2 separate regions of the Homo sapiens genome follow, and region 2 is linked to region 1. The links are contacts of gene promoters, found by promoter capture Hi-C in human tissues and cell types (Jung and others, 2019). All regions are on one chromosome and are shown on one strand. Each heading gives the region's core, a stretch centred on a gene start or on the middle of the fragment in contact. The rest is flanking DNA. Distances are from core to core; before and after follow the strand shown.

The links. Contacts are between HindIII fragments. The study calls those that stand out against the background at their distance.
Region 2: a fragment that was not itself captured here is called in contact with the fragment with the promoter of ZNF285 in region 1 in 2 of the 25 tissues and cell types used here (IMR-90 fibroblasts and hippocampus).

The regions. Positions count from the first base shown.
Region 1 is chr19:44,400,071-44,403,186 of GRCh38, reverse strand. It overlaps ZNF285 (zinc finger protein 285), which reads left to right and starts at 1,579. Exons shown (of 4, transcript NM_152354.6): 1 at 1,579-1,619. RefSeq lists an enhancer at 1,426-2,182. The HindIII fragment of the contact is 9,713 bases long and covers 1-3,116 here.
Region 2 is chr19:44,200,727-44,203,842 of GRCh38, reverse strand. No RefSeq gene overlaps it. Among named protein-coding and RNA genes, the nearest start is that of ZNF227, 10 kb to the left of the region's middle. The HindIII fragment of the contact is 7,900 bases long and covers 1-3,116 here.

The sequences.
Region 1 (3,116 bases), core at 330-2,829:
TGGCATGATCTCGGCTCATTGCAACCTCCACCTCCTGGGTTCAAGTGATTCTCTTGCCTCAGCCTCCCAAGTAGCTGGGACTACACGTGCTTGCCACCATGCCTGGCTAAGTTTTGTATTTTTAGTAGCGATGGGGTTTCACCACCTTGGCCAGGCTGGTCTTGAACTCCTCACCGCGTGATCTGCCCACCTCGGCCTCCCAAAGTACTGAGATTACAGGCTTGAGCCACCACGCCCAGACTGGGAACCTTTTTGACATGCACTTTTCAATCGTTGACAGATGCATAATGAAAAAATCTAAGTAAGCACAAATAAGCATGTAGGAAATTTAAATAGCACAGTTAGCAAGTCTGGGGAAAATATAAATGTATGCATATCCATCTGATAGAGAAGACACATTGTTTTCCAACAGACACAGATGTCACAAAAATTAACCTTGTATTAGGTCAAAAATAAAAATGTTCCTGAACTCGTTTTTTAAAATTCAAGTATGTCAAATTAAATCAAGTAATCCTTCAACTTAGAGCAATATATAAGAACATCAAACATGTAAACATCAAAAGACAGAGATAAGCCAAAACAATTGCACTGTCCCTTTATGTGCCCTAAGCTGCGATGTCAAGCTATAGTTGGATATTATTCAACCATTTCCTGCCCATTGCGTAGAGGTGGGGGTCTTCACTTCTCTATCTAGTCTAGGACTGGAACCGCCTCACCACCCCTACAGCTTGAGGGTGCGTGGAAAAGGGAATGCCAGCCAGATATTCCAAACAGAGACTCTGCCAGCAGGACCAGGTGACCTTTCCTAGGAGACAGATTGTTCTCACACGTTATCAGGGCTTTCCTCCAGGCTAAAACTGTGGGCCTCTAATGGAATTCCTATTCAATTTTCTTACCCCATTTAGGGTACCCAAATTTTTCTTTAATAGAAATCTTAAATCTTAAATGCAATAACATGAAGTAAAATAAAGCCTAAGTCTCAACAAGGGCAAATTTTCAAAAAGAATCTGAAAACTTCCCGCGTTTTCTTGTTATGTTGTAATGTGTCTCTTTTAGGACACTCTCAGTACTCCTGCAATTCCCCTGTTAAGGATTCAGACAATAGTTGTTAATTCCTTCTGCTTCTTCTGAGACTAGGAAATAAATTACAGGGCTATGTTATATCGCAAGTGTAGATTATCCAGAGTTTTCATCAACAGAAATAAAACATGGTGGGGGGCGGGGAGGGAATTATTTAAGTGAGTGTTAATTGAAAAGTTTCGTGGTTTTAACGTTAAAAGACATGCCTATAAAATAAGAACTTATAAAAGTCTTCACTAAAACGGTAAAGTGCCCATTTCCAAGTAGTAAAATATTGAAACTTCTTTTCATCGTTGATAGTGATTTATTTAACATTTCATTATTTTATCGTTATTATGATTGTCGTTATTTTAGACGAATGCACGGAAGTCAAAGGACTTCCAAATGCACGGAAGTCAAAGGCCACCTTCACCAGGGTAGCCTTGCGAATGGCCACTGCTGCGCGCGGGGCTTTCTGGGGATTGTAGGCCATAGGCCTCCTTGCGCATGCGCCATGGTACTGGACGCACGCTGCGGGCGACATTGTTTGGGACGCTGGGGTGAGTCCCGTCTGTACCGCGCCCCTCTTGGAGGCGTAGCCAGGAGTAGGAGTGTAGGATGTGCAGCTGTGACCCGTCCCTGTGGACTGAAGTAGGAGGAGTGGAAGAGGGGACTGGTAACCAATGATAAGGCCTCGTAGGTGGGGTAGACTAGGGAAGTTCAGCGGCCCGACCTACCCGGGATAGGATGGGAAGAGCGTGGGCTCGAGCGTGGGCTCGGTTTGGGGAGCAGCCCTGGGTTTGACAAAACAGTGCATCTTCACGTTTCGTGACAGCGACTTGCGCTGTGCCTCCTCGGGTCGAAGCTTAGGGTCAGTCTTGGGATGTGCATCTCTGGATGAGGGCAGAGGGGCGCTGGCTCAGGGTTTTGGAGTAATGGCTGGACTGTGCGTCCCTGAATGGGATGAGGGATTTGCTTAAGCAGCTAGTCTCTGGATATAGAGGATGGCTTCGGCTGTTCTCGCTCAGTTTGGTGGGGGCGATTCTGGCTCAGCACCCCTAGGTTCTTGGATGGGGAGTTGTCTTGGGTCTGAACTCTGGATTTTGGCAGCTCTGACTCCATTGGGGCATTTATGACTTCAAGGCAGAGGTTCTGGCTTTTGGCAATAAAGAAACAACTCAGACTGTAATACTGTAATAACTCCAGAGTTTAATGTCACCGAATACATTTTGAAAAGAACTGTCCCAGGCCTGGCGCGGTGCCTCACGCCTGTAATCCCAGCACTTTGGGAGGCCAAAGTGGGCGGATCACGAGGTCAGGAGATCGAGACCATCCTGGCTAACACGGTGAAACCCCGTCTCTACTACAAAAAACAATTACAAAAAATTAGCCGGGCACGGTGGCAGGCGCCTGTAGTCCCAGCTACTCGGGAGGCTGAGGCAGGAGAATGGCGTGAACCCGGGAGGCGGAGCTTGCAGTGAGCTGAGATCACGCCACTGCACTCCAGCCTGGGCGACAGAGCCAGACTCTGTCTCAAAGAAAAAAGAAAAGAAAAGAACTGCCCCAAATTATTAACTCCATTCTCACCTCACATGCTGTGAGCCAGGGAGTAGGGACTTTGAGTATTATAAAGCACATTAGCAAATATAAGTTGTTAAATTACACTCAACAAATTTGAAGTTTGAACACTCTCTGTATATTTGATAAAGTTAGAGATTTAGTGTTAATTATTTTAGGTGTAATAGCAGCATTTATTACATTTCTGATCGTGTTTCTGGGCAATTGCAGTTCCAGATTCAGCTGCACTTTTCCTCTAGGTCTTCATTCCCTGAAGAAGTTGATATGGGCATCTGGTCTCATTCCTGATGCATTCCTCAGATCAGAGTAGTTGTCAGGGTGAGGGATGAGAAAGGCATTTGTGTGCGAGAGCTGTGTGGACTTTGGCAGATAGGGAAAAAACAAGAGTCTTGAGGTGCCATGTGTCCCATGCCTTTGGCTCCCCACCTTTTCCACCCTGCTGTCTGCCCTGAAAGGCCGCCATTGCCTTCTGGCCTTGC
Region 2 (3,116 bases), core at 368-2,867, 200 kb after region 1:
TCACTTCCTAGACTGGGCAGCCGGGCAGAGAGGCTCCTCACATCCCAGACAATGGGCGGCCAGGCAGAGACGCTCCTCACTTCCTAGATGGGGTGGCGGCCAGGCAGAGGCTGCAATCTCGGCACTTTGGGAGGCCAAGGCAGGTGGCTGGGAGGTGGAGGTTGTAGCGAGCCAAGATCACGCCACTGCACTCCAGCCTGGGCAACATTGAGCACTGAGTGAGCGAGACTCCGTCTGCAATCCCAGCACCTCGGGAGGCCGAGGCTGGCAGATCACTCGTGGTCAGGAGCTGGAGACCAGGGGGGCCAACAGGGGGAAACCCCGTCTCCACCAAAAAATACAAAAACCAGTCAGGCGTGGCGGCGCACGCCTGCAATCCCAGGCACTCGGCAGGCTGAGGCAGGAGAATCAGGCAGGGAAGTTGCAGTGAGCAGAGATGGCGGCAGTACAGTCCAGCCTCGTATCAGCTCGGCATGGGAGGGAGACCGTGCAAAGGGGAGAGGGAGAGGGGGAGAGGGGGAGGGGAGAGGGAGGGGGGAGAGGGGGAGGGAAGAGAGGGAGAGAGGGAGAGGGAGAGGGAGAGGGAGAGCTATTTTTTGATATTTCTTATAGAAACTTTATTGAGATATAATGGATACAGTTTACCCATTTAAAGAGCACAGTTAAATGAATTTTATTATATCCAGAGAGTTGTGCAACTATCACTGCAATCAATTTTTAGGACATTTACATAATCTCAAAAAGATACCTGATACCCATTAACAGTCACTTCCAATTTTTCCCAAACTCCTCAGCCCTAGGCAATCACTAATCTACTTTCTGTAGATGTACATATTTTGAACATTTTCTGTCAGTGTACTCACACAATACGTGGTCTTTTGAAACGAACTTTACTTAGCATAACATGTTGAAGGGTCATCCATGTTGGTGCATGAACCAGTTATTCATTTCTTTTCATGGCTACATAATGTGCCATTGGATGAATACATCACATCTTATTTATTCATTAATGGCTATTTTGGATTGTTTCTACTTTTGGCTATTATTAATAATGTTGTTTTGAACATTTATGTACAAGCTTATGTGTAGGCATAAGTTTTAATTTCTCTTGGTTGTATATCTAGGAGTGGAATGCTGAGTCATATAATAACTCTATGTTTAAACCCTTGGGAAACTGCCAGACTGTTTGCCAAATAAATTGCACCATTTTACATTCCCACCAACAATGTATGAGGGTTCCAATTTCTCCACTCCCTTGGCAACCCTTTTATTATCTGTCTTTTTTACTGTAGCCAATCTGGTGGCTAAGCAATATCTCATTGTTGTTTTGATTTCCGTTTCCCTAATGACTTATGACATTGACCATCTTTTCATGTGCCTATTGGGCATTTATATGTCTTCTTTTGAAAAATGTCTATTCAGATACTTTGGCCCATTGTTTAATTGGGTTATTTGTCTTTCTAAAGTGTTGAATTGTAAGAGTTATTTATGTATTCTAGCTACAAGTCTCATCAGATATATGATTTACAAATACGTTCACCCATGTTGGTGTCTTCACTTTCTCGATGGTATCCACTGATACACAAAAGTTTTTCATTTTGATGAGTTCCAATTCATTCATTTATTTTTTGTTGTTCCTTGTGCTTTTGATGTCATATCTAAGAAACCATTGCCTATTTCAAGGTCATGAAGATTTATATCTATGATTTCATCTAGTTGTTTATAGTTTTAGCTGTTACATTTAGGCCTTTTACCCACTATAAGTTAATTTTTGTATATGATGTAAAGTAGGGGGTCCAACTTCATTCTTTTTCATGTGCACATCCAGTTTTCTTAGCACTATTTGCTATTTGTTGAACAGACTGTTCTTTTTTCATTGAATTGTCTTGGCACCTGTACTTGATTTTAATATTCATATACTGTGTCTCACATTGAATAAGCATCCTTAATTTTGAGGAGAGAAATTTAATAAGCATTTTCCTTAATTTCTGTGCTTTTGAAAGTCCTAGGTTTCAAGAATATTCTCCTACATTAAAAAAATTAACTTTCTACATTTACCTTTCCCATTTAGGCCCTTTAATCCTTTTGAAATCTATGTAAATATTATTAGGTAAAGATCTGCTTTTATTTTCCTGCATATACAAAAAACCTTTAAAATAATTATAATAAATAATATTTATGGATAGACAATTTAATATTTTAAACATCTCAATATTCTTCACCAAAGTAATCCATCATATCAATGCAAACCCAATAAAAATACTAGAATTTTTTCTGGAAATTGATACAAATATTATAAAAATTTGGAGTAAAATCTGAGAGCTAAGAATAGTCAAGATAATGTGAAAGAATAACAAAATGGAAGACTTACTTTATGAGATATCTAATCATATTATAAAGCTACAATATCAGTGTGGCATTTGCTTAAAGATATATAGATAAAGGAAGAGAATAGAGTGTAGATCAAAGTAAATACTGTCATTTCATTTGTGAAAAGAATATGCTACTGTACAGATTATAAAAATTCTTTTTAATATGTGCTTCTTCATCAATTAGATATCCACATGGGAAAATATATATTCGTCTGTACTTCACAGAATTCACAAATATAACTTTCAGAAAAAATGCAGATCTAATTTTGGAAAGTAAAGCAATGACACTTAGGGAAACAAAAGAACCTGTTTGTTGCCCTGAAGTGGAAAAAAATATTATATGAGACCAAAATAATCCACAATTTTTAAAAAATTAGGTGACTTAGATTATTTTAAAAATGAAGAACTTCTCTTAATTAAGGCACCAATGAGAAAATGAAAAGGTAATTCTCAAATTGAGAAAATTTGTAAACCATATATGTGACAAAAGATTCATATCCTGAGCATATAAGAATACGTAAATCCTAAAATCTGTAAGAAAAGTCAGGCAAACAAATCAGAAAAATGTAAAAATAACTGAACAGATAGTTCAGAAAAGATGACATAAATACTCAATAATCAAATAAAAAGATACTCAAGTTCTTGAGTCATCAAAGAAACTCAAAATATTATGAGAACTCCACTACATTCCAACCATAAAGGTTAAAATTAAGAATTAGTCAAAGAAAGGTTGACAAAAATGCA